Regions from separate parts of the Homo sapiens genome. Here regions 1, 3, 4, 5 and 6 are each linked to region 2. Evidence: promoter capture Hi-C in 16 types of primary human blood cells and fetal thymus (Javierre and others, 2016). All regions are on one chromosome and are shown on one strand. The core of a region is centred on a gene start or on the middle of the fragment in contact, and the rest is flanking DNA. Distances in the headings are between cores, read along the strand shown.

What was found. Contacts are between HindIII fragments. The CHiCAGO score rates a contact against its expected background, and 5 or more counts as called.
Region 1: a fragment that was not itself captured here is called in contact with the fragment with the promoter of KRT39 in region 2 in 3 of 17 cell types (M2 macrophages, naive B cells and M0 macrophages); the score reaches 7.3 in M2 macrophages.
Region 3: a contact is called between the fragment with the promoter of KRT37 here and the fragment with the promoter of KRT39 in region 2, in 17 of 17 cell types (naive CD8 T cells, activated CD4 T cells, total B cells and 14 more). The highest score is 15.3, in naive CD8 T cells.
Region 4: the fragment with the promoter of KRT38 here is called in contact with the fragment with the promoter of KRT39 in region 2 in 17 of 17 cell types (non-activated CD4 T cells, activated CD4 T cells, total CD4 T cells and 14 more); the score reaches 13.3 in non-activated CD4 T cells.
Region 5: the fragment with the promoter of KRTAP9-6 here is called in contact with the fragment with the promoter of KRT39 in region 2 in 6 of 17 cell types (naive B cells, erythroblasts, total B cells and 3 more); the score reaches 7.3 in naive B cells.
Region 6: a contact is called between a fragment that was not itself captured here and the fragment with the promoter of KRT39 in region 2, in 2 of 17 cell types (total B cells and non-activated CD4 T cells). The highest score is 6.1, in total B cells.

What each region holds. Positions count from the first base shown.
Region 1 is chr17:41,328,560-41,332,971 of GRCh38, reverse strand. It overlaps the pseudogene TBC1D3P7. Among named protein-coding and RNA genes, the nearest start is that of KRTAP17-1, 15 kb to the right of the region's middle. RefSeq lists an enhancer at 2,862-3,431. The HindIII fragment of the contact is 1,543 bases long and covers 1,736-3,278 here.
Region 2 is chr17:40,965,639-40,970,078 of GRCh38, reverse strand. KRT39 (keratin 39) reads left to right here and starts at 3,131. Exons shown (of 7, transcript NM_213656.4): 1 at 3,131-3,690. The coding sequence starts at 3,223. All of the region lies in intron 1 of LOC107985072 (a long non-coding RNA gene), which reads right to left. The HindIII fragment of the contact is 5,044 bases long and covers 368-4,440 here.
Region 3 is chr17:41,422,705-41,427,078 of GRCh38, reverse strand. KRT37 (keratin 37) reads left to right here and starts at 2,494. Exons shown (of 7, transcript NM_003770.5): 1 at 2,494-3,047; 2 at 3,235-3,317; 3 at 4,145-4,301. The coding sequence starts at 2,556. The HindIII fragment of the contact is 11,234 bases long and covers 1-4,374 here.
Region 4 is chr17:41,439,087-41,443,525 of GRCh38, reverse strand. KRT38 (keratin 38) reads left to right here and starts at 2,543. Exons shown (of 7, transcript NM_006771.4): 1 at 2,543-3,096; 2 at 3,283-3,365; 3 at 4,167-4,323. The coding sequence starts at 2,605. RefSeq lists an enhancer at 2,387-2,887. The HindIII fragment of the contact is 7,679 bases long and covers 2,320-4,439 here.
Region 5 is chr17:41,262,357-41,267,354 of GRCh38, reverse strand. KRTAP9-6 (keratin associated protein 9-6) reads right to left here and starts at 1,977. Exons shown (of 1, transcript NM_001277331.1): 1 at 1,495-1,977. The coding sequence starts at 1,977. The coding sequence ends at 1,495. The HindIII fragment of the contact is 5,841 bases long and covers 1-4,638 here.
Region 6 is chr17:41,230,765-41,235,515 of GRCh38, reverse strand. It overlaps KRTAP9-3 (keratin associated protein 9-3), which reads right to left and starts at 3,067. Exons shown (of 1, transcript NM_031962.3): 1 at 2,062-3,067. The coding sequence starts at 3,014. The coding sequence ends at 2,535. The HindIII fragment of the contact is 5,484 bases long and covers 193-4,751 here.

The DNA of each region.
Region 1 (4,412 bases), core at 1,258-3,757, 360 kb before region 2:
CAGCCTTTCCCAGTGTTCTGGGAGATAAACAGCTGTCTCCTATATTGTCCTGGATCCCTGGAGGATGGGCCAGGCTTGGAGGTGGAAGAAGAGCTCAGTGGGGAGGGGGCCGAGAAGGGGCTGCCCAGAGGTGACACATCTGGAGTCCCCAAATCTGCATCAGGGCAGATGAGTAGAGCTGCACTCTCCCAACCTGCTCATGTTGGCCTTTTGTGATCTTTCATTTTGCCCCATCCGCGTTGCCCTTAGGTATTCATTGCTACCTGTTATCACTGGAATAAAAATGGCCATGGGCATTCTGCCCTTCCTCCACCTCCCTCTTCTCCATCCCTTCTTTCTTCATCTGTGTATTGAGCACATACCCTGTGCTGGGCCCCTTCTAGATGCATGGCCAGGGTTGTCCTCATTGATGAAGCAAGGTTTGAGCAAGGTTTGTAGGAGGTGATGGGTCAGCCAAGCAGTTTTCTAGGCAGAGAGCATTCCAGGCAGCGGGAATGGCTTGTGCAAAGGCCCTGAGGCAGGAGCATGATTGGCATGCCTGAGGCCCAGAGGGGAAGCCTGCATCTGGCCTGGTGTGAGCTAGGGGAGAGCAGGAGATAGCTCAGGGAGAGAAGGCCCAGGTTCAATGACCTGAGGCCACTGCAAGGCTTCAGCTCTCCCTTGGAGCAGCTGGGGAGCCATTGAGCAGAGCAAGAGCCAAACTGAACGGGTTCCAATTTCAGCTTAGCTATCAGGGAGCTATGTGACTGCACCAGGTCCAGGCGGACCCACCTGTACATGAGTGACAGCACCCACAGGGTCCAGAGCTCACATGTCCATGGGTCCAGCTCAGTGCCTGGCATGCCGAGAATACTTGGGAAATGCCAACTAAGGACTCTCACCTCAGGAGGGTCTCTTCTCATTTCCAAAGCTGTCTCTTGCTTTGGAATGCACGCAGACACTGGGCAAGTATATATGGAGCTTTTAATCTCTGCCTGACACCAGAGACACATCCACAGACTGACCGAGTTTCCTGCCCTTGTGCTGCACTCCCCTTGAGGAGACAGACGACGGTGACATGCAAGGAGCTAAGATGTCAGGACACTGAGCTGTGAACGAGGCAAGCAGGGGCTGAGGGATGGAGGAGACAGGGTGGTGGCAGGTGGGGGTGGCCGGGATGGCTGGAGCCTGGGACCAAGGTAGGTTCCTGCACTGCTCTGCGTGGGGACCTAGCTGGGCTCTGAGTCATGAGGGCAGACAGTGGCCAGGGTGAGGCTGGCACTGTGCATCCCCTTCCCCACTGCTGAAGATGCCGCCTAGGGTGGGCTCACAGTCTTTGGGGAGTTAAGAACCATCCTGATCCTAGAGAAGGTTATTTCTGGAAGCAAAAATCCAGGGTTTATGCTCCTGGGACAGGGGATCCCTGGAGCCTCTCATCCTCCCCATAGCCTTTGCATTGGGCAGTGAAGGCGTTTTCCTGTTGAGTCTGAGGAAGGGAGAAGTGGTGTCACTTGGGGTGTCAGCTTTCATCTCACTTAGTCCTCACGGGGGCCTGCAAAGTAAGGGTCACCATCGGCCCAATTTACAGATGAGGACACTGAGGTTCAGAGAAGTTACATGATTTGCCCAAAGTGACACAGCTACTAAGTGGCTGAATGGGATTGAATCCAGGTCTTTCTGAGACAGCCCAAGCTGTTGATGGAGCCCTCTGGCTCACGGATGAGCAGGTAAAGTGAAACAAACACTTTAGAAAGCTTACCTGAGGGTGAGGGGGCAGGCAATTGAGCCTTCTGTGGGGTCCGAAATGTTTACAGTTGTCTCTCTGCGTACGTCGGGAATCAGTTTCACCACCTCCCACAAATACCAAAATCCACAGATGCTCCAGTCTTGATATAAAATGGTACAGTATTTGCATATAACCTAAGCACATCTTCCCATATGCTTTAAATCATCTCTAGATTACTTACCTATGCAATCATGTGTCAGATAGCAACATTTCAGTCCGTGCCAGAATGCATATAGAATGGTGGTCCCATAAGGTTATAATGGAGCTGCCCTATACAGGTGTACCATCTCTAAAAATTGATATCTAAAAAGAGATGGGGTCTTTTTATGTTGCCCAGACTAGTCTAGAACTTCTGGGCTCAAGTGATCCTCCCGGCATGGTCTCTCAAAGTGCTGGGATTATAGGCATGAACCACTACATCTGGCCAGGTGTACCAATTTTTTTTTTTTTTTATCATTTATACTGTATTTTTATCATTCTTTTCTGTGTTTAGATACACAAATAGCCATCATTGTGTTACCACTACCTATGGTACTCAGTATGGTAACATGCTGCAGAGGTTTGGAGCCCAGGAGCAATCAGCTCTACCATTCAGCCAAGGTGTGTGTTTGGTTGCAACCTCTGAAGGAAGCTAAGGAGGAATGACCTAAAGACAGAAGGTGAGTCCGAGGTGGGATCCTGGGACAGGTACCAGAAGTTAAGCAAAAACAGGTGAAATCTGAATGAATTTCACCATATTAATATAGTGACAGCATTAATAACCTTAAATAATAGTTAACATTATTATTCAGTTAACAGGATTGCACCCATGTTAAATTCCTTAATTTTTTTTTTAAGAGAGAAAGTCTCATTCTGTCGCCCAGGCTGGAATGCAGTGGTGCGATCATAGCTCACTGCTTCCTGGATCTCTTGGGCTCAAGCGATCCTCCTGCTTCAGCCTCCTGATTAGGTGGGACTATAGGCACACGCCACCATGCCTGGCTCCTTATTTTTTTTTTTTTTTTTTTTTAACTTTTCTCCAGGGATAGGGTCTACCTATGTTGCCCAGGCTGGTCTCAAACTCCAGGACTCAAATGAACCTTAACCTCCTGCCTTGGCCTCTCAAACTGCTGGGATTACAGGTGTGAGCCACCACACCTGGCCTAAATTTCTTAATTTGGACAAATGTGCCATGGTAATGCAAAATGTCATTATTAGGGGCAGCTGGACGGAAGGTGTCGGAGTACACTATAATGCCTTTTCAGTTTTTCTATATATCTAAAATCATTTCAAAAGTAAACATTTATTTTAAAACATGGACGTGGTTATCCTTCCATGAGTGTAAAGTACAAAAGGCAGGCTCATGGTGTTGTCAGAAGTCAGAACACTGGTTGCAGGGCTGGGGGCGCAGAGGCTGGGTTGGCTTTGTGATCTGGGGGCTGATGTGTTCCATCTGTTAATGTCTTTAGAGCTGTGCACTTTCTTCATAAATTTTCATAAGTTTAACAAAAAAGTAAAACGAGGATGGGAAGCTTGTTTGGGTTGTGGGGCCTCGGGAGTGTACTGCTGCTTGTCCCTAGCTGTGAATGGGGTGCCCTGGTCGGAAGCAGTGCTGTGTGCACTGCAGGGCCGGCAAGTGCATGTCCACGTTGTGGCTCAGTGCAGTGAAAGCCAATCTCAGCCCCTTCCGCAGTGTGGTCAGCCTGCCAGTAGGTGGCCAGCTGGTCCTTCTGGGAAATGGTGCCATCCCAGGGGTTGGGTGTGAATCTGTTTTCCACAGACAAGGCGCTCAGCAGTGGTGTCAGCCTGGTGAGCCTTGGTAAGGGCATGTGCAGGATGCTGAGCCTCTCCCGTCCCCATGCCCGTCTCATGGCCACTTGCTCTGCGGGCCCATCCAGCAAGCATGGTGGCTGGGAAAGAAGCCGGCTCCATCCACAGGGCATGCTGTTTTGCCCACCTCAGGACCAAGAGTATTCTCTGTAGTAATTCTCTTTGGTGGGAGCACTGGGAACATGAACAACAGATACCTTCAGAGTCTGAGCTGCTGAGGTGAGGGCTGCAGGGTGCCCTGCTGTCAGGAGAGCCTGCACTGGCAGCTGGAAGGCACGTGGTGGTGGCACCTGCTGTGGCTGCAGCAGTGGCTGCAAGGCTTCGAGATCTCTCCCCGGTTCTGTAAGGTGAATTGTGACAATGCAGAGCTCTGCAGTGCCAGGGTCCCCTGCATGGTCATGCTGACTGCAGCTGGGAGCCCACCACAGCCCTGGTACCCCTCTCTTCCCAGGGCTGGGGTCTAGGCCAGGCCACTCTTGGCCTGGGTATTGTGCCCCAGGTCCATACTGCTGGCTGTCTGGGGCTGCAGGGATGCCGTGCTCACGTCTCTCTCTTGTGGCCTTGATGGGACCAGCTTCCCCATTGAATGGGATCTTCCAAGGTATCTGGGGCTGCGGGGAAGCTGGTGGGTGCCACCCTGGTTCCTTCCAGATACAGGTGCCCATGTTGCAGTGGGGGTATCTCCTGATCTCCTTCTTAGTCCTGATGGGCCTGGGCAGGGCCTGGTGTCGAGGTCCCCATGGGCTTCCTGGGCTAGGTCTGTCCCATGGTCCCAGGGCTGTCCAGGACACATTTGGAGGGGACACGGGCCCAACAGCCCTGTTCGAAATCATAATGG
Region 2 (4,440 bases), core at 1,882-4,381:
GGGTGGGTGTATGAAGAGAGAGAGAGAATATTTTAACCCAGGCTGTAGCTTGCCTTTTCACTTTCTTAGCTATTTATCTGATCAACAAAAGGTTTTCATTTTGATGAAGTCTAATCTATTTATTATAGTGTCCTCCATGAGCTTAGAAGTCTTCTCATGGCAGAAGGTTATGAATATAATCTTCTGAGTTTTCTTCTAAAAACTTTAGACTTGAAATCTTCACAATTAAGTGTTTAATCCAACCTGAATTAAGTTTTATACGTAGCGTGAGGTAGAGATCAAGATGTATTCATTTTGGCTATACAAGTATCCACTTGATTCAGCGACAAGTATTGAACAGTATTGAAAAAACAGTATTGAAAAAGCTTTCCTTTTCTCATTGACTTGCTTTGGGATCTTTGTCAGAAATCAATTGACCACATATATGTGAGTCTATTTCTAAACTCTATATTCTTTCTCATTGATCTACTTTCCAACCCTTATGCCAATATCACACTGTTTTAATTGTAGTAGCATTATAGTAACTTGCATGAATTTACATTTCATTGCCACAAGCAATGAGAGTGCTATAGGCAGTGAATGTATCTGTTATCAAACTTTGATTTTTTTCAGTTTGATAGGTGGAAAACTAAAATATCTCAGTATAATTTAAATTTACATTTCTCTTTTCATGAGTGACATTGAGCATTTTTTCTTATTTTAAGTGCCTTTTGTATTTTCCTTTTGGTCACTGTCTAGAGTGTAATTGTAATATTGTTTCCCAGTTTGTCATCTTGTCTTCTGGTTTTACAGGTTGTATTTTTCACCCAAGCACAAGTTCAAACACTGTTATTTTATGGAGTCAAATCTAACAGTTTTTTACGGCTTCTTAATTTTGAGTCATCATTGGAAAAGTCTTCTGACTCCAAATTTATAAAATAATTATCCTTTTGGGCATATTTATTATTTATTTTTCATATCTCAATCTTTGATCTACTTGTAATTCGTCCCACTGTAAAGGATGAAGTATGGTTTCAACATTCCCTGCCCCCACACCAAAGGGAATACAAAATTGTCCCCAAAGTACATATAATACATATAACGGTCTACCTTTTCCCCATGGCTTTTATTTTGTATTTTATTTTATTTTATTAAAAATGAAATCGCACTGTGTTGCCCACCTGAACTTGAACTCCTGGGTTCAAGTAATTCTTCTGCCTCAGCCTCCTACAGAATGGGAGAAAATTTTTGCAATCTGTCCATCTGACAAAGGGCTAATATACAGAATCTACAAGGAACTTAAACAAATTTACAAGAAAAAACAAACAACCCCATCAAAAAAATGGGCTAAGGATATAGAAAGACACTTCTCAAAAGAAGACATTTATGTGGCCAACAAACATATGAAAAAAGCTCATCATCACTGGTCACTAGAGAAATGCAAATCAAACCACAATGAGATACCATCTCACACCAGTTAGAATGACAATCATTAAAAAGTCAGGAAACAACAGATGCTGGAGAGGATGGAGAGAAATTGGAACACTTTTACACAGTTGGTGGGAGTGTAAATTAGTTCAACCAATGCAGAAGACAGTGTGGCAATTTCTTAAGGATCAAGAACCATAAATACAGTTTGACCCAGCAATCCTATTACTTGATACATACCCAAAGGATTATAAATCATTCTACTATAAAGACACATGCACATGTATGTTTATTGCAGCACTATTCACAATAGCAAAGACATGGAACCAACCCAAATGCCCATCAATGATGGACTGGATAAAGAAAATGTGGCACATATACACCATGGAATACTATACAGCCATAATAAAGGATTAGTTCATGTCCTTTGCAGGGACATGAATAAAGCTGGAAACCATCATTCTCAGCAAACTCACACAGGAACAGAAAACCAAACACTGCATGTTCTCACTCATAAGTGGGAGTTGAACAATGAGCACACATGGACACAGGGAGGGGAACATCACACCGGGGACTGTGAGGGGGTGAGGGGCTAGGGGTGGGATAGCATTAGGAGAAATACCTAATGTAGATGACAGGTTGATGGGTACAGCAAACCACCATGGCACTTGTATACCTATGTAGCAAACCTGCACGTTCTGCACATGTATCCCAGAACTCAAAGTACAAAAAATCTCATAATTCAAGAAAAAAAAAAAAGGATGAAAAGGGGCCACTAGCTGAGGATGTGGACAGCCTGTAGAAGCTGGAAAAGGCAAGAAAATGATGTTCCCCTAGAGCCTCCATAAAGGATTAGCAGCAAGTAACTTTCTGAAGAAAATGCTGAGTAAGTATTCCTCAGAAAGAAAACACACCCCTTTCAATGAATCCTATTTAAACATCCAGTATAAACCAACACTGTGATACATTTTTATCTAATGTAATACCACAAGCAAACACCAAGCACTAAAAATGTTATAAAATGTGGACTTTGGAAAACCAAAAGAGAGCTAGTCTCTTTTCCAAGAAATTTCTTATTAGCAATCAAACCCTACCTTTTCCCCATGGCTTTTATTTTATTTCATATTTTATTTATATTTTATTTTATGTTATTACATTTTATGGAAAGCTAAAACATAAATCTAGCAATTATCTTTAAAACAAGACTTTTAAAAGACTAACATTTTAATTCATACTCACATTGTCCTGACACTGAAAATGGGGAAACCATTTGGGCAGAACAAACTAAAATATTGACTTCTGATTTCTAAGTTTACCAATAATTATTAAACATTAATAGTTTCCCTTTTCTAGAGAAGAAAGGAAAAGAAGGATGAACTCATTCCTGGTTAAGCTCAGTGCCAAGTGGAGAGGTCAACAAGAATGTAATGAACTTAGTATACTCACACCTGCTTAATAATGGATGCTGTTAGGACAGTTCCTTTTGAAGACATAATTTGAAGCTCTGGGTCCAATAGACAAGTAGTAGTTATGATGGGTAATAACTTACTAACAGCCTAAATGCACATGTTTATGAGACAAATAACTCTTCTTAAGCAAGTAAAAAGCAGACTAATAAGATGTTCCTACAGGATTTGATATAAACCTGAGAAAGGAAAACATCCCACCTGTGTGACACCACGTAGAAGAGAGGCTATATAAGCACTTCAAAGAGGAAAACACCAAGAGCCTTGGAATTCAGACTCTGTGGAGGTGGCTTGAGCTTTTCATCCTGGTGACCACAGACCTGGAACAAACTAAAGCCAGACACATACTATGGACACCAAGGGCTGTACAACAACCAATTCTCCTTCAACCCCATGTCAAAACTGCTCTAGGATTACAAATGTTAGTACCATCTCTTCTAACAACGGCTGCCATCCTGGTGGCCTTACAGTCAACAACTGTCAACCAGCTGGCCACGTTCTCAGAATTCCCTGGGACCAGGGCTGCCAACCCACTCCTCGCTTTTGTCGCAAGCCCATCTACCTAATGAACAACTTCAATGCCCGTTTTTCTCTGGATGACTGCAGCTGGTATGGTGAAGGCATCAACAGTAATGAGAAGGAGACCATGCAAATCTTGAACGAGCGCCTTGCTAACTACCTGCAAAAGGTGCGAATGCTAGAACGAGAGAATGCTGAACTGGAATCTAAAATCCAGGAAGAAAGTAACAAAGAGCTCCCTGTTCTATGTCCTGATTACCTGTCTTACTACACTACCATTGAGGAGCTCCAGCAGAAGGTAAGATTCCTAAGAACCTGTTTAATCGTGTTGTGAATTAATGGTTTCCAAGCAACAGTTATTTGCTAAACTTTAATATTTTTTGTTCAGTTGATGCTGAAAATTTTTTTGAAGAATAGAAAAATTTCTTGAGTGAAATTGTCATCTTGAGGCAGCATTCAGAGTCTGATAGTATTTCTGGTCAGGCGCAGTGATGCACACCTGTAATCCTAACACTTTGGGAGGCTGAGGCAGACAGATCACTTGAGCCCAGGAGTTCTAGACCATCCTGGGCAACATGATGAAATTCCATCCTTACACACACACACACACACACACACATACACACACAAAAAAAAATTAGATGGGCGTGGTGGCACATGCCTGTGGTCCCAGCTACTTGGGAGGCTGAGGTGGGAGGATCACTTGAGCCCAAGAGGTTGAGGCTGCCATGAGCCAAGATCCTGCCACTGCACTCCAGCCCAGACAAAAGTGAGACTATGTCTTTAAAAATCAGAAACAAAAAGAAGAGTCTCATGGTGTTTCCTTTCTCCAGAAATACACTCTACCATTATAACTAGATGACTCAGGACCAAAAGATGTTAACAGCAAGTTGTTGCCATTTTTTAAATAAAAATAGGGAAACAGAGATCAGAGAAAATAAATTTTGCTTTAATGAGTTTCTAAGCAATTTAGTTTTTATCCATTTTTCAACCATCACCACCTTTTTCTCCTTTTATGCTTATGTTATCATCTCCACATTGCTTGGTT
Region 3 (4,374 bases), core at 1,245-3,744, 460 kb before region 2:
GTTTTTTTTAGCTGTGTAACAATGCAATTTGTAATCCATTCAAGTAAATTCAGCCCCAAAGTTGTTGCTTCCCAGCATTAAGTCCTGCGCCCACCCCTCTTCTAAGATTTTCTAAAACTTGTATTTCAGAGGAAAAAAGTGTAGCTGAAGGGAATGCATATTTGATGCATATTTGGCTACACGATTTCTGTTTACTGTATTTTGCTTCCTATTTTATGTCTAAATCCTATTATTTTCATTTAAAATCTTAATAATGGCTCATTTCCAGTATGTCAATTTCAAAGACTTAAGGTTTTGCTACTAGTATCAGCCATTTACTTTCCCACTAATTGGGATTTTTTTTTTTTTAAAGAGTTTATTTATACTCTTTTAGAGCTTGTCCCATGGTCCTTCTGGTTTCCCTCTACCACTTGGGAGGGATGACTCCTGGCCACACCCCCATTGGTTGACTTGTTTTCCAGCTCTACTGGAAATCTCTGGGATTTGGGATATACAGTCAGAATGTTTCTGTCAACGACAGACCACATATACGGGCGGTGGTCCCACAAGATTATAATGATGCTGAAAATTCCTATTCTCTAGTGATGTGGAAGTGGTTATAATGTCGTAGTGCAATGCATTACCTTTTCTATGTTTAGATACACAAATATTATCGTGTTAATAATAGTTGCCTATGATACTCAGTACAGCAACATGCTGTACAGGTTTGTAGCCAGGTGCTATAGGCTGTGCTATACAGTCTAGGTGTGTAGTAGGCTCTACCATCTAGGTTTGTGTGAGTTCCCCCTATAATGTTTCCACAGTGAAGAAATCTCTTAACGACGCATTTCTCAGGACGCACCCTGTCTTAAATGATGCATATGTTACAAACTAGCGTAACTTTTTTTTTCTTTTTTGAGACAAAGTGTCAATCTTGTTGCTCAGGCTGGAGTGCAATGGCGCAATCTTGGCTCACGGAAACCTCCGCCTCCCGGGTTCAAGCAATTCTCCTCCTCAGCCTCCTGAGTAGCTGGGATTACAGGCATGTACCACCATGCCCGGCTAATTTTATATTTTTAGTAGAGACCGGTTTTCTCCATGTTGTTCATGCTGGTCTCGAACTCCTGACCTCAGGTGATCCGCCTGCCTTGGCCTCCCAAAGTACAGGGATTACAGGCGTGAGCCACCGCGCCCGGCCTAGTTTAACTTTTTAAAGTGCATTTTCTTGTTGTCACTGCCATAGTATTTAAATCTTTTCCTTTGCTGGAACACAAAGACCTTCAGTAATTTTCTTTTCACCACAATTTCTCATCCAGTAACTAAGCCCCTTCTTGCCCTCTCCTTAGGCCCAGCACTGACGGGGCAATGACACCGTTGTTCTCACCGGGGGCCATGATGAAGTGAAAAGAGAATGGGCCTAGCAGACATGAGACTGAATCGAGCCTTTGCCAGTTCACTAACTGTCAATCAGAAAATGTGCAAATGTACTTCACTCTAGTTTTCTCATCTGTACATTGAGGCAATGAGTAACCACCTCATAGGTGGTAAGGGTTAGATAGGAAAGAACACAGTAGAATGCCTAGCACACCTAAGTACTCAATCAATGTTAGTTCTGGACCTTTCATTTGAATACTGCTTGAGCTCTGTGCCCAATCTCCCTTTCCTGGATCAAATAAGATTTTTCTTTGTTAGTGATTTCTTTCTAGATACTTCCTTGGCCAGAACTATAGATCCTCTGTCTTTCACTAACTCTTGTTGATCTATGGTTCTCATTCAAGTTTGTGTAGAACATCCAGAGATTTCAGAGGCATTGTTTACTCCTGATGAACAGGGAACATTGCGTGTCCAGGAACCAGCACACTGCCTGAGTTATGGGGGATATTCAGGAAGCATGCTGAACCAATGAATGAATGAACAAATGAATGAATAGCTGATTCTGACTAGTCAACCAAAACTTAATTAGCGCCATTGCTTCCAGATGTTATTGCTTCTCAAGGGAGTATGCAATGTGAAAGAAGAAAGAAAAAAAGGCGCCTCTCAATCGTCAAATATCAGTAGATGCATTGGTTTTATTAACTGATATTTTCTCTTCAAAGGAAAGGCTGATTCAGTCTTGCACAGGCGAAAGATCCAGTGGGTCCCATTGGTTCTCTGTGTCTCCTGCTACACAAATTACTGACGGAAAGATTTGAGCCTTCATTGTGACCACATCCACAGAGACCATAGTCCAGAGAGAGCAATTGGGGCCTGAATCAACTGCTGGTGTTTGTTGAGCAGAAACAGTGAGTCTCTGACTTCCCACCAACAGCTAACCTGATATGGAAGAGCCAAGAGGCATCTCAGATTTGTCAACATTGCTTTAATGAGCTGAGGAACTTCTCATGGTAAACTCAGCAGCTGAGTAACAGGATGATGGCACCACAACAGGTAGATAATCAAGGCAGGAGGTCAAAGCACTGGAGCCAACACCCGCCCAGGATGGGGTATAAAAGGGTTGGGAGGAGAGGAGGCTTCAGTCTCAGTGGCTCAGCCTTCCCAGCTGATCTGAAGCTCCTGTGCAGCCTCAGCCCTACACCATGACCTCCTTCTACAGCACCTCCTCATGCCCTCTGGGTTGCACCATGGCTCCTGGAGCAAGAAATGTCTTTGTCTCTCCTATCGATGTTGGGTGCCAGCCTGTGGCAGAGGCCAATGCTGCCTCCATGTGCCTCTTGGCCAACGTGGCACACGCCAACAGAGTCCGTGTGGGGTCGACTCCCCTGGGCCGCCCCAGCCTCTGTCTGCCCCCAACCAGTCACACTGCTTGTCCCTTGCCAGGGACCTGTCACATTCCCGGCAACATCGGAATCTGTGGGGCCTACGGCAAAAACACCCTGAATGGCCATGAGAAGGAGACCATGAAGTTCCTGAATGACCGCCTGGCCAACTACCTGGAGAAGGTGCGCCAGCTGGAGCAGGAGAATGCAGAGCTGGAGACCACACTCCTCGAGAGGAGCAAGTGCCACGAGTCCACCGTGTGCCCCGACTACCAGTCCTACTTCCGTACAATCGAGGAGCTCCAGCAGAAGGTGAGGTGTGGGATCGCCTGGGCATGCTGGGTCTGAGAAGGCAGAAGCCTTCGCAGGAGGAATCTGCATAAGGTCCAGAGAGCTTTGGGTTCTTGGTTTCTCTTGGACATGAGCGTAAATACCACACATGGAGTGGGAGCTTAGAGTATGGTGCTTTGTGTGTGAACCGTCTTTCCGTTTTCCTCAGATCCTGTGCAGCAAGGCTGAGAATGCCAGGCTGATTGTACAAATTGACAACGCGAAGCTGGCTGCTGATGACTTTAGGATCAAGTAAGTCAGGATGAGGAGGGTCAGTGTGACTTCTCTCCTGCTGTATTTCCAAGGGCCCGCCCCATTACTCAGTCTATATTGTAGGTGTTCAAAAACAGTTTTTGACTAGAAGAATATTTCTCTCCACACCTTAAATTAGCCTGTTGCTAGAAATGGTCATTATATAGGAGGAAAGAGAATATAAGCATTGAAAGAAAAAGAAGGGCTGTAGTCTAGATTGGTTAGAACCTATGTCACTTTCTCCCATATCTAGAAGATAAGAGGATTTTGCTTTTCAATCAGAAGTAAAATTGAGTCATCACAAAAATAAACTGTCAATGCATAGGTTGTTGCTAGACTCTCTGACTCTTGGCCAAATCCATCAGCTGGAGGAATTGTCATTGAAGCTCCTTGGTAGCTAGAGTTGTGCTTGAATGAAGGGGAAAAGCAAGAAAACAACGAGAAATAATGAATCCAAGAGGAAAAGCAGCAAACTGAAGGTCCAGAGGCTTATTTTTAGCCATTCTTTTTCCTGGCCAAATGACTCCTATTATGGCAGAATAAATGCTGCATTTGAAGTCAGAACACTTAGGATGAGTCCATGCATTTACTATTAACTGGGCATGGAATTCTGAACAACTCGTGTTTTGTTTCTGAGCCTCAGTCTTCCATCTGGTCAATGGGCATAATGTCCTGACTACAAACCGTGTCGCTGCAGGGTTGAGAATAGTGTATACTGCCCACGTGAACAAATAAGGATCCAAGGTGGTGTGGGAGGTAGGAAGCCAGGGCAGCTGAGAGGGGCTATTGGGGCATTCTTTTTGACCCTGTGCCTCCTGTGACGGAAGGCTGGAGAGTGAGCGCTCCCTTCACCAGCTGGTGGAGGCGGACAAGTGCGGGACGCAGAAGCTCCTGGATGACGCGACCCTGGCCAAGGCCGACCTGGAGGCCCAGCAGGAGTCCCTGAAGGAGGAGCAGCTCTCCCTCAAGAGCAACCACGAGCAGGTGTGGCCCTGGCTGCTCAGACTCCTGGGGAGGGCGCTGGGCAGACAGGGGAGCTCCCCGGCCCTGGGGCTCT
Region 4 (4,439 bases), core at 1,294-3,793, 470 kb before region 2:
CACAATCTCCAGGTGCTAGCCTACAGCTCCATACCTTTCTCTCCCATTGGTTGAGATATGCCCCTATGTATCAAAATTAGTGAAAATGGCATTCCAAGACCACAGCTCCTCACCTCCATTTGCAGTAGACTTCATGCCTCTAGAGATCGGCATGTCTAAAGTCAGAATCCACACAGAGAATGTTGTGCACACAGGTGAATGAAGGAGGGCAGCAGGCTCCCATCTCTCACACTCTGTATTCATCACTTCTTGTTACTGAACCTGGCCTCATATTCGGTCACCAGGGGCCACAGGGACTCTTTTTAAAGGGTTGGGAAGGAAGAGAGTCTTAGGATCCCCACCCGCTCCTTCACCTCCTTTGAGAAAATACAAATCAGGGGAACAAAGCGATTTTACAAAGAGCCATGCAACATCAGTATCATTATGCAAAACAGTACAAGGTAGAAGCCCAAGCCAGGACCCAAGCCAGTTGGCAGAGAGGGGTGTCATCTGGACACACAAGGCTTCAGCAGTGATGAGTCATGTATTGTGAATGGACGAAATCGTGGCTTTTAGTCCATGGAATGAATCTGGGCAGAGGATAAAGCCAAAAGATGGGTGCTACTTAGCAAATCAAAGGAAATGACTTTAAAAGCCTGGCTCTCTGATTTATAGAGAAGCTTGTTGCTATGTGATGAGGCGGAGGAGAGTAACAAAAGGGTGTTTGAAGATGTAACATATGCAGATTGCACCCAGTGGCCTCTGGAGGATGGGACAGCCTGCCCTGGTGATGTCTCCCAATGATGTTGTCTGTAAAGGGTTATGGATTGGTGAGCTCTGAATAACCCTTAGGTCAGCGCTCACTACTACTTACTTTCCTGAGAAGCCCAATCTGGACTGAATTCTCAGATTCTGTATTTCTTCTTGATAGAACTCCAATAGCCTGTGTTTCACATATGCACGTCTGATCCCTATAGAGGTGTATGTTCAGCTTTTGTTCAATGCTCAGGGGACTGGCAAAAACTCATTTTCCCAAAATTCTAGTTATAATCACTTTGGATTGTTCCACATTAGGTTTTTCTTAGTCTCAGGGGTCTATGTATCTTCTGTCACAAATTTTGGGAGAAAAGTTTTGGGATCTCAGCAGCCATGTGTCTTGGATCCCTAGTACCAAGAACTATCTGAATGTGGAATGTGTAATATAACCATTTTAGGGACAGGACTTTCCCCTGGCATCTTCTGATTTAGCCCTTGGAGAAACTCTGTTTTATTGTATGAATACCTCCACATCTGTATTTTCTGAGATACAAAGGGAAAAATACACAATGTCAGATTTTTGTTTTACATCTTAATTTCAACTTCTTGCCCGGTTTCTAGGAATTTGAATCCTTCTTAGTTCTAGCAATGACACAGTAGTTATCCTTGGGGTGGAGGATTTGGAGGTGGTCAAGGTGAAGAAACAGTTTCTGGAGTTGAAAGAAGCTGATGTTGAGAATAGGCTTTATACTTTATAGTGAGGTTGATCTTAGAAAACTGTCCTCAATGGCTTGTTTATTTATTTTGTAAAATTAAGAGTACCCACCTCCCAGGTTGGAAGTAAAGATTAAAAGGTATCATTGCTCAATCCCCTAGCTCATAGGGTGAAGGCTCATGACTGACTTTAGAATAAAGGAAGCAAGGTATGAAGAGAGCCCACAGAGGCTCTGATCACTCAATGTCCTTTGACTTTCATGACCAAGTTCTTATTTGAGGTTCAGTAAGATTATTGCTCATTTCTCTTTGTTTATTTCTGGCTTCTTGAGCTTGCCCTTCTTGGTCGAGATAAGCCATGGTTTTTGGAGTCATCCTCATTTTCATGAGCTTCTCAGATACCTTGTTTGAAACATCACGTCTACCCAAGTTACAGTTGTTCCCCAATGGCAGGAACTATTTTGTGCTTAACCAACTATATATCAAGCATCAGCAAGGTGCGTAGCATATGGGACGTAGCCAGGGGATGTGTTTTGAGTGACTGGATTCATCTAAGTCTTGTTGCTCCTCAAAGTGAGTCTGAAAGGCAACCAACTAAAGAAAGAAGAAATGTAGGACTTCTTGATAACCCAAGGCCATAACATCCACCAATTCCAAGACTCAGTTTCTTCCCTGGATAGGGAAGGCTGGTTGAGTCTTAACCCAAGTGAGAACCATTGTCATCACCGGGGTTAGTCCTCCTGCTACACCACTGACCAACAGGAAAGTTTGTGTCTCCAGAGTGGACACATCCATAAAGAGGCCAAACCCAGTCAAGGTCTAAGCATCTGATGGCTATAACTTTGCTTCTTTGAAAGATAATAAAAAGCTTCTGACCTCCCATCAACAGCCAACCTGATTTCAAAGAGCCAAGAGGCCTCAGATTCGTCAACATTCCTTTAACGAGCTGAGAAACTTTTCATGGTAAACTCAGCAGCTGAGTAACAGGATGATGGCACCACAACAGGTAGATAATCAAGGCAGGAGGTCAAAGCATTGGAGCCAACACCCGCCCAGGATGGGGTATAAAAGGGCTGGGAGGAGAGGAGGCTTCAGTCTCAGTGGTTCAGCTTTCCCAGCTGATCTGAAGCTCCTGTGCAGCCTCAGCCCAACACCATGACCTCTTCCTACAGCAGCTCCTCATGCCCTCTGGGTTGCACCATGGCTCCTGGAGCAAGAAATGTCTCTGTCTCTCCCATCGACATTGGGTGCCAGCCTGGGGCAGAGGCCAACATTGCCCCCATGTGCCTTTTGGCCAACGTGGCACATGCCAACCGAGTCCGTGTGGGGTCCACTCCCCTGGGCCGCCCCAGCCTCTGTCTGCCGCCTACCTGCCACACTGCTTGTCCCTTGCCAGGGACCTGCCACATTCCTGGCAACATTGGAATCTGTGGGGCCTATGGTGAAAACACCCTGAATGGCCATGAGAAGGAGACCATGCAGTTCCTGAATGACCGCCTGGCCAACTACCTGGAGAAGGTGCGCCAGCTGGAGCAGGAGAATGCGGAGCTGGAGGCCACACTCCTCGAGAGGAGCAAGTGCCACGAGTCCACCGTGTGCCCCGACTACCAGTCTTACTTCCACACCATCGAGGAGCTCCAACAGAAGGTGAGGTGTGGGATCGCTTGGGTGTGCTGGGTCTGAGATGGCAGAGGCAAGACAGGAGGAATCCATGTAAAGCTCAGAGAACTTTGGGTTCTTGGTTTCTCTTGGACATGATCATAGACACCACACGTGGAGAAGGAGCCTAGGGCATGATGCTTTGTGTGTGAACTGTCTTCCTGTTCTCCTCAGATCCTGTGCAGCAAGGCCGAGAATGCCAGGCTGATTGTACAAATTGACAATGCCAAGCTGGCTGCCGATGACTTTAGGATCAAGTAAGTCAGGCGGAGGAGGGCCAGGGTGACTCCTTCCCCACCCTCCATCCCAATGCCCAAATACTTGTTGAGTGAGGGAATCATTGTCATTTCTTCCTTGCTAGATTCTCTACAGTAAAATTTTCATTACAATCGAAGCTGATGGAAGATGGAAGGGAAAACTCCTCATTAATCCAAGCATATATGTTTGTCTTCCTTCATTTATTTCCCTAAAATGGAGGATAAGGCAGCCTGAGTTCATTAACCAGGAGCAAAATGAGGTGATTTGAAGGATGAACTGAGCAAGACAGCCATTGGGTTTCATATATAAGTCAGAGGAGTCACTTACAGATGAGTCTTTGTCCAGATTTAATTAGGGAGCCCTAAGGTACCAGGTATAAGGTACCTAGGCAAAAATGAGAGAGGGGAAGACAGCTGAAAGCAAGGGATAAGGAGCCGCAGATCACGATCAGGCACCTGGTTATTGCTTATCTTTGGTAACTGACAGCCCCTGCAATGGCATGAGCGTTGGACTGGGTCCCAAGATGCATGATCTTACGCAAGTCAGTTGATCTTCCTGAACTGCAGTTGCCACAGAATACAATGGCAAAAATGTATATTGTGCAATGTAGTGTTGTGATTTCTCCATTAGACCATGAGCTCTTTGAGAAGAGGGGCTGGGTCTAATTCACCTTTGAGGACAGAGGGCTAAACAGAGTGAATAAATGAGGATCCAAGGTGGTGTGGGAGGTAGGAAGCCAGGGCAGCCGAGAGGGGCTCTTGGGGGCATTCTTTTTGACCCTGTACCTCCTGTGATGAAAGGCTGGAGAGTGAGCGCTCCCTGCGCCAGCTGGTGGAGGCAGACAAGTGTGGGACACAGAAGCTCCTGGATGATGCGACCCTGGCCAAGGCCGACCTGGAGGCCCAGCAGGAGTCCCTGAAGGAGGAGCAGCTCTCCCTCAAGAGCAACCACGAGCAGGTGTGGCCCTGGGCGCTCAAACTCCTGGGGAGGGCACTGGGCAGACAGGGGAGCTCCCCAGCCCCGGGCTCTCAGAGCATTGCCTGGCCTCAGCTGGCATCAGGATGCAGGGCTGA
Region 5 (4,998 bases), core at 728-3,227, 300 kb before region 2:
TTTGTTTCACTTAATTTTCCTAATAACATTTTGATTTGAGGGACAATTTGACTTAATGTGGCTTAATGTATGGTCCATATTTTAGAAGGAATAACTTAAATTCTTTTTGCTTTGTCAACAGGTATTCAGGAGAAGGAAGCCATATAAGAATATTATTTACGTGATACCAGGAAAAAAATCCCCAAATGAGATCCTCTCTCATGAGGACACAATGCATTCTCAAAATTTTCTGATGCAGATTAATTGAATAAATAGCTGGTCAAAGACTGAGACAAAAAGGGATCCTCACTCAGGGCAGCTATTAAATGCCGTCCCTGTTGTCATCCCATGTAGCTATTACTCACTGAGGTGTGGAAAACTAATTTGGGAAGACCTTTGTGAACAGAAATGTCGTCTGCAAATATGAGAGATTATACCTCCCACATTAAATAAACTCAAGTGCATGTCTTGCTATTGCTGAGTCTCAATATCATTTCTACTTTACCGAGAGTTAAATGTAAGTGTTCTTGGGCAGAAAGAGAAGCTCTCACCTTGGACTAGAGTCTGTCCTTTATTAGCTACATAAAATCACACACTAAATTGTTCTCAGCTGAAAAATTGAGGTAATAATACATAATAATAACTCTGTTTTCAGAATCAAATTGGATAATACATATAGCATGCAATATGTGTGTAAATCTCATATCAGCAATTCTGTAAAATAAAACACCATATGAGATGAAGGATGGTTCAGAATTTATTCAGAAATATATAGGTAAGAATCCCTGCTACTAGGGACATAGCCCAAAGTTACAATGAAAAGAAGAAAGAAGGGTAAAAGAAACATGAGGACAAAATTGAAAACAAAAATATGATTGCAAAGATTATTGATCAGTTGCAGAAACCTAAGTTTCTTAGAAGGAGAGAATGAAGCTCTTGACTTTAGAGTCGAATGGAGACCATGTCTCCACATTGAGAACACATGAAGCTGGCACATGATCCACAAAGTGTAAGGAAAAAAGAATCAGGATGAAGTATTCTGCCCTCCCTCAAGCTGATTCCCAAGATTTTAAACAGGCAAAGAAATAAAAAAAATTGGTGAAAGCATACTGTGTATCAGTAAAGTTTGAAAGTAAATCTGTCTTCTGAAAGATAAGTGAGTTGGGTCTGGGTGTGGTAGCTCACACCTGTAATCCCAGCACTTTGGGAGGCTGAGGCAGGTGGATCACCTGAGGGCAGGAGTTCCAGACAAGTCTGATCAACATGGTGAAAACTACTAAAAATACTAAAAATACAAAAAATTAGCCAGGCGTGGTGGCACAGGCATGTAATCCCAGCTACTCAGGAGGCTGAGGCAGGAGAATCACTTGAACCCAGAAGATGGAGGTTGCAGCGAGCCGAGAGCGTGCTACTGCACTCCAGCCTGGGTGACAGTGAGGCTCCGTCTCAAAAGAAAAAAAAGGTCAGTTGAGCAGAAGGTTGTTGTGTGAGGATGATGGTCCTCTGTGGTGCTGCTCAGCAACAAGAATGCTGGCAGCAGCTGGACACACAGCAGGCTGGGCAGTAGCAGGGCTGGCAGCAGCTGGATCCACAGCTCTGGTTGAGGCAACCAGGCAGGCAGACAGTCGTGGGGTGGTAGCAGGTTCTTCTGCAGTACACAGGTGCACAGGAGCTGCTCTGGCCACAGCTGGACCCACAGCTGGTTTGGCCACAGCAGCTGGACCCACAGCAGATGGGCTGGTAGCAGGGTGTGCTGCAGCAGGAAGGCTGGCAGCAGCTGGTCACACAGGTGGGCTGGCAGCAGGTGGTCCTGCAGCAGGTGTTTTGACAGCAAGTTGGGTGGCAGTAAGGCTGGCAGCAGCTGGACACACAGCAGGAGGGCTGGCAGCAGGGTGTGCTGCTGCAGGTGGTCACAATGGTGGGCTGCCAGCAGGTAGTCCTGCAGCAAGTGGTCCTGCAGCAGGTAGGCTGACAGCCAGGGGAGCAACAGTGGGTCATGTTGTCAGGGGTGGAGGGTGGGCTTCTGTTCAGAGGTGAGTTTCCCAGGATTTGATGACCCCTTGCAATCTGGACCTTTTATACATGTGGCCTCCAAAGTTTCCACCAATCAGCAGGATTTTTCTTTCTTGCTGTTTACAGTTGTTTTCCATAGTCAGTTTGGCATTGTCAAAGAGGAAGTCATTTCCTAAATGTTATGAATCTTTGGAAAGTAAGGGTTTAATCTGTTTCTTAATTGTAAATTACTCGTAGAAACTTTGTTTCAGATAAAAGGAAGGCAGTCTCATCATCAGCTTCGTTCCTGCTCTGACCAGCATCTCGTCATGTGATAGTTCCTGGTGACTGGGGAGGCTCAGGAAGTTCTCTCTGCCCAGTCTCATCCTTTGGCTGTATGTAGACTGGGAAGTGTCTGTGGGGAGAAGCATGATGTTGATATATTCACAGTGGTGAATTGAATCCATGCTTGGGACCAAGACTGTTCACCCACCAAAGTCTGATTCAAGACTGATAGGCATCTCTCTATGTACAACCTACTTTACCTGTCTCTTCCAGTTCTATAAAAGCCTCTTGGGAAGAGGGTGTTCAGCACAATGTGTGCTATGTGGCAGAGCAGAGCCAAAGCAAACACGTAGAAAGAGGAGGGGTTCACTGGAATTCACAAAGCATCAAGCAATCTACGTGCTGCGGTGACCATTCACCCTGATTTGTCTGGGACTGAGGGGCTTACCAGCATGAGAATGTGGGACTGGGAATTACTGTGACATTACTGCTTGAGGTCCAGGCAAAGCAATATGAGCTGTGGCTCTAGCCCTAATCCAGGTTACTGGCACAATCATTGCCATTTCTCTGTCTCTGTCTCTGTCTCTGTCTCTGTCTCTGTCTCTCTCTCTCTCTCTCTCTCTGTCTCTCTGTTTTCAGTGAGGGAATTAGGTGAGTTGAGATGATATCTGATTCCTCTTTGAGGTTTACCATTGTTTAAAACTTTTTAAATTATACCATTCATTTCAGAAGAGTGCAAATTATGAATTCCAACTTGATATAATATTACATTATAAATACATCTAAGTCCCCATTACCAGTTTACAAAATAGAAATTAATTCCATTCCCTCCAAATTATATCTTTTTACTTATCTCCAAAGGTAGCTAGTCACTCTATCAAGTTTTAATCCTGTAGGTCAGTTTTGTTTTTTTCTTTGACTTTTATGTAAATAAAAATTATAGAATTTGCTTCACTGTGTTTTTGGCATAATCAAAAGCAGCAATTATAACCTGGTCATTTCATTTTGGATCCTTCATGTTAGCAGACCAGCAGGTAGATAAAGGAGTTAATATTCCATGAGGGATAATTTTCGTGAAGCCATAGAGCGTAGGGAGAATATATCTGAAACTCAAGAAATTTACTATATATATTAAAGCATTACACTGCCATTAAAAACTATGGCAAATCAAGTGGCTGAAGTTTATTTTCTCACAGTTCTGAAGGCTAAAATAAAGGTGTTGGCAATGTTGTTTTCATCTGAGGGCTGTGAGGGAAATATCTGTTTCAGGTCTCTCTCCTTGACCTGTAGATGTCTATCTTCTCCATGTGTCTCTTACATCATCTTCCCTCTATATGCATCCTGTTTGAATTTCCCCTGTTTATACAGACACCAGTCACATTGAATCAGAAGCACAATTTATTCCAATATGACCTTATCTTACCATCTTGCATTTAAGTGACCCTATTTGAATATGAGTTCTTGGGGACACAATTCGACCCATAACCTTGGAATATCTCGTAGTGTATCCATGCCCATTGATAAACACAAATGAGTAACAAAAGCAACCACAGTTGGACAATGGTGTAGTAAGTAACTAGAGGGTAAGACCCATCAGGCAGGAAGTTCTGAGCTACTTCATCAGGCAATTATCTAAACTAACAGGAGTGCTGGCCAGTGATGAAGGGAGTATAGAACTGGCGGAAACTGATGGAGATTATGAATCTCAGAAGCACCCTATTACAGCAGTAGTTTCTTTTCCCTTCCCTCCCTTCCCTTCCCTTCCCTTCCTTCCCTTCCCTTCCTTTCCCCTCCCCTCCCCACCCCTCCCCTCCCCTTTCTTTCTTTCTTTCCTTTTCCTTCCTTCCTTCCCCTTCCTTCCTTCCTTCCTTCCTTCATTCCTTCCTTCCTTTTCACTCTCTTTCCTTCTGTCTCTTGCTCTCTTTCTTCCTCCGTTCCTTTCTTCCTGTCTGTGTATATTGTCTTCTTCCCATATCTTTCCTAGTTTTTTCCTCCTCTCTCACCTTCTGTTCCTCCTCTTCCTCCTCCTCCTTTTTCTCCTAGAGTTCATGGCTGTCCATTACATTTAAGAAGGAAAGATTGGACTTGAATGGAGCAAATGTTACTGTAGACAGGTCTTCATTACCATACCTGTATATCATGGAACTTAGGGTGCTCATACCAATTTCCATCTGCCTGAATCTGCATCTCTGTGCCTTAGGGCTCTTGTATTGCAACTACAGAAAGTCATGTCACCTGTGCACACTACAGGGAGAAAAATATTCAACTGAAAATTCTAAAGAGTGGATTTATACAGACTCTAGCTTCTTCACTGCTGAAGTTTGAGAATTCAAAGTTGTGTGTTTTTCATCATTTCTGAAAAATTTCCCTTTAGCTTAAGCTTCAGTTGATCTCTGTGATACTGGCTTAATAGTATACCCTTTTCTGTATCACTGCCACAATCCCTTCTGGCCTGTTCTGCCCTTCCTAATACACTGTATTCATTGGAATCTTTTTCTCAGAGTATCTTCTGGGAAAAACCAAACTATGACATTACATCTCTCAGCCTCAATTTCCTCATCTCTACAATTAGAACACTAATGCCTACTTTGAAAGTTTTTTCAATAATTAATGATAATGTACATAAAAGATTTACACAATATCCATCAAATGATAGGCAACTGAAAACATATTATTTCTTTTCTCTCCAGAAATTCCTAAACTAATTTTAATGTTGATGATAAGAATATATTTATAATAATT
Region 6 (4,751 bases), core at 1,685-4,184, 270 kb before region 2:
CTGTGCCTAAGGGCTCTTGTATTGCAGCTGTAGAAAGTCATGCCACCTGTGAATGCAATACAGAGAAAAACACTCAACCAATGATTCTGGAGAGCTGATTTATAAAGACTCTAGCTTCCTCATTCCTGAAGTAGGATAATACCAGCTATGTGTTTTTCATCATTTCTGATAATTTTCACTTTAGTTTAAGCTTTAGTTGGTGACTGTGAAACTGACTTAATAGTGTACCCTTTTCTGTATCACTTCCCCAGTCCCTACCAGTATGATCTGCACTTCCCAGTAAACTAGTTTCACTGGAATTTTTTTTCAGAGTCTCTTCTGGGAGAAACTCATCTATGACTATACGTTAACTCAGCCTCAAATTTCTCATCTCTACAAGAGGAACATTAATACCTATTTTGAAAGTTTGTTAAATAGTTAATAATAATGTACACAAAGCATTTATCCAGTACCCATCATAGAGCAGGCAACACAGAATTAGTGTTTTTTGTTCAGAAAATTCCCAAGTTTTATGTTGAAGATAAGAATATTTTTGTATTAATTAAATAGATCAACTAAATACGTTTTTTTCTAGCTGTATTGAGGTATAATTGACAAACAAAAATTGTGTACATTTCAGGTATAGAAGGTGATGCTCTGATATATATATTGATTGTGAATAACATATTTATTAGGTCACTTAGTTACCATTTCCTTTTTATTTTTCTGGTGTGAATATTTAAGATCTACCTTCTCAGTAAATTTCAGGTATATGATAAAGTGTTTTTAACTATAGTCATATTACTGTACATTAGACCTACTGAACTTATTCATCTTTCATAACTGATGCTAGTCAAAGAGAATGTCCTAGTTTTCATCTCCTTTACTTCATCCCTGAACGATGATGACAGTAAGTGGCTGTTGTCTCTTAGCCAAGTCTTCAGAGCATTCTAGATTCACAGTCTCGGAAGTTGGCATCTGTCATGGAAATCTACATTTTTAGCTCATCAGAGGTATTTCTACCACTCCCCTGCTGGTAGGAGGCCCCAAGAAGGTGCCCCAGGTCCCCGACTTTTCAATTTCTCTCAGAGCCAGCATCAATCAATCCTTTCATGAGTGAATGGTTATCTTACATCAGTTCAGGACCCGAAGCACCAACCTCTGTCTATTATGTCTTCTATGAATGCACAAGTTCTACCTTGCTCCTTTCTTACATTCTTCTGATTTCCGTGGAAAAAGAAGTTTTTCATTTCTTTAGATTCTTCATATTGGCCTCACAAAATGTGGAAGGTTGTTTTTATTCCCTTCCTTAGCTCAGAGATTATGGGTTGTGCCAAGTCTTACATGCCCATTGCATAGTTTCTCAATTCCCAGCTTTGTTCTTACATAATTTTACTCATAACACTTCAAGTAGGGGACAAATTGTCTTAACGTGGCATAACGTATGGTCTGTATTTTACAATGAATAACTTAGTTTCATTTACTTTGTCAATTGGTATTCAGGAGACCGATGCTGTATAAGAATTTTATTTACATCACACTGAGAATAAGTTTCTTCAGATGAGGCTCCGTCTCCTGAGTCCACAATAAATTCTCAAGCATTTTTTGATGCAGATGAATTGAATGAATGGCTGGTCAGAGGCTCAGACAAAAAGATCTCTGCATTCAGGGCAGCCATTAAATGCATATCATGCAGCCTTTGCTCACTGAGGTGTGGGGAACTACTTTGGGATTTTTTTGTGTGTGAACAAAAGTGTTATCTGCAAATATGTCAGATTATTCCTCTCATTGTTAAATAAACTCAAGTACATGTCTTGCTAGTGCTGACTTCCAGTGTCTTTTCTACTATATTGGGAGTTAAACGTAAGTGTCCTTGGGCAGAAAGAGAGGACCTCACCTTTGACCAGAGTCTGCCCTTTACTAGCTACATAACATCACACATTAAATTGTTCTCAGCTGAAAAAATGGAGTTAATAATACACGACCATCTGTTTTGAGAATCAAATTGGATAATACCTATGGTATGTGATATGTGTGTAAATCCCATATCAGGAATGCTTTCAAATAAAACAAAACACTATATGAGATGAAGATGGTTCAGAGTTTATTCAGAAACATATAGGTAAGAATCTCTGCTACCAGAGACATAACCCAAAGTTATCGTGAAAAGAAGAAAGAAGGATACAAGAACCATGAGAAGGATATTTAAAATGAAAATATAATTGCAAAGATGATTGATCAGTTGCAGAAACCTAAATTCCTTAGAAGCAAAGAATGAAGCTCTTGATTTTTGAGACAAAGCTGAGATCATGACTCCAAATTAAGAACAGACGAAGCTGGCACATGATCCACAAGGTGTAAGGAAAGAGGGAATGAGGATGAAGTATTCTGCCCTCCCTCAAGCAGATTCCCAAGATTTTAAACATGTAGAGAATTCATAAAAATTTGGGTGAGAGCATGGTGGCTGTCAGCAGCAAAGTAAATTAGTCCCTCAAAAGACAAGTCAGTTGAGCTGAAGGTTGTTGTGTGAGGATGGTAGTTCTCTTGGGAGTTGATTAGCAGCAAGAAGGCTGGCAGCAGCTGTACACACAGGTGGGCTGGAAACAAGTGGTCCTGCAGCAGGTGGTCTCACAGCAGGCTGGGCGGCAGCAGGGCTGGCAGCAGTTGGAGCCACAGCTCTGGTTTAGGCAACCAGGCAGACAAACACTTGTGGGGTGGTAGCAGGTTCTTCTGCAGTACACAGGTGCACAGGAGCTGCTCTGACCACAGCTGGACCCACAGCATGTGGGCTGGCAGCAGGGTGTGCTACAGCAGGAAGGCTGGCAGCAGCTGGTCACACAGATGGGCTGGCAGCAGGTGGTCCTACAGCAGGTGTTTTGACAGCAAGTTGGGTGGCAGCAAGGCTGGCAGCAGCTGGAAACACAGCAGGAGGGCTGACAGCAGGGTGTGCTGCTGCAGGTGGTCACAGTGGTGGGCTGCCAGCAGGTGGTCCTGCAGCAGGTAGGCTGACAGCAAGGGGAGCAACAGTGGGTCATGGTGTCAGGGATGGAGGGTGGGCTTCTGTTAAGAGGTGAGTTTCCCAAAATCTGATGACCCCTTGCAATCTGGACCTTTTATACACCTGGCCTCCAAAGTTTCCACCAATCAGCAGGACTTTTCCTTGTTGCTGTTTACATTGTTTTCCACAGTCCATTTGGGATTGTCAAAGGGGAAGTTGTTACTGAAATCTTATGAACCTTTTAAACTAAGGGTTTAATCTGTTTCTTAATTGTGAGTTACTCATAGAAAGTTTGTTTCAGATAAAAGGAAGCCCGTCTCATCATCAGCATCATTCCTGCTCTGACCATCATCTGGTCATGTGACAGTTCCTGTTGATCCGGGGGGCTCAGGAAGTTCTCTCTGGCCAGCCTCATGTTTGGCTGTATATAGACTTGGAAGTGTCTGTGGGGAGAAGCATGATGCTGATATATTTACAGTGACAAAATGAATCCATGCCTGGGCCCAAGACTATTCACCCACCAAATTCTGACTCAAGACTAACAGGCATCTCTTTGTGCCACCCACATCATCTGTGTCTTTCAGTTCTTTGAATGTCACTTGGGAAGACGGTGACTGCACAGTGTGTTCCATGCGACAGAGCAGATCGAGAACAGGTGGATGCAGAGAAATCTGCTGAGATTTAGACAGCATCAAGCAATGTATGCCCTAGGACGACCATTCATTCTGACTTGTCTGGGAGTGTGGGGATTTCCGGGATGAGAATGGAGGACTTTCTATCACGTAACTTCTTGAGATTCAGGCCAACCAGCATGTGCTCTGGCTCTAGCCCTAAACCTAGTTACTAGCAGTAACTAGAAGTAAGCGTTGAAATTCAGGCCAACCAGCATGTGCTGTGGCTCTAGCCCTAAACCTAGTTACTAGCAGTAACTAGAAGAAGAAGTAAGTAGAAGTAATTTCTTCTATTTCTTTTCAATGAAGGGATTAGATGAGTTGAGATGACACCTGATTCATCGTGGAGTTCTAACATGTTGAAAACATTGTCTAGGTATATCATTCACTTGAGAAGAATGCAAATTATTAATTTCCAACCTGATATAGTATTACATTGTAAATACATCTATGTCCCCATTACCAGGTTAGGAAATAGAAATTAATGCCATTCTCTCCCAATTATATCCGCTTACTCATTTCCAAACAGCTAATCACTCTATCAAGTTATAATCCAGTAGATGACTTTGGCTTTTTAAAATTTCCATGTGAATAAAAATTATAGTATTTGCTTCTCTGTTTCTTTGTTATAATCAAAAGGAATCGTTATCGCCTAGTCATTTTGGACTCTTCCCGTCAGCAGAGCAGCAGACAGAGAAAGGAGTTACTATTTGGTGAGGGGTAATTATCTTTAAGCCATATAGTGTAGCAGAATATATCTATAGCTCAGGATACTTAGTAAGTGTATTAACTTACCAGCACTGCCATAATAAATTACTGTAAACCAAGTGGCTTAAATTTATCTTTTCACAGTTCAGAAATTAAGGTTTTGGCAATGTTGTTTTCATCTGAAGCCTGTGAGGGAAGTACATGTTCCAGGTCTCTCTCCTTGACTTGTTGATGTCTATCATTTCCATGTGTGTTTGATATAATTTTTCTGTTATATGCATGCTGTCTCTGAATTTCCCCCTTTTATATAGACATCAGTCATATTTAATCAGAGGCCTAATTGTTTCCAATATGACCTTGCCTTATCACATAACACTTTAAATGATTCTATTTGA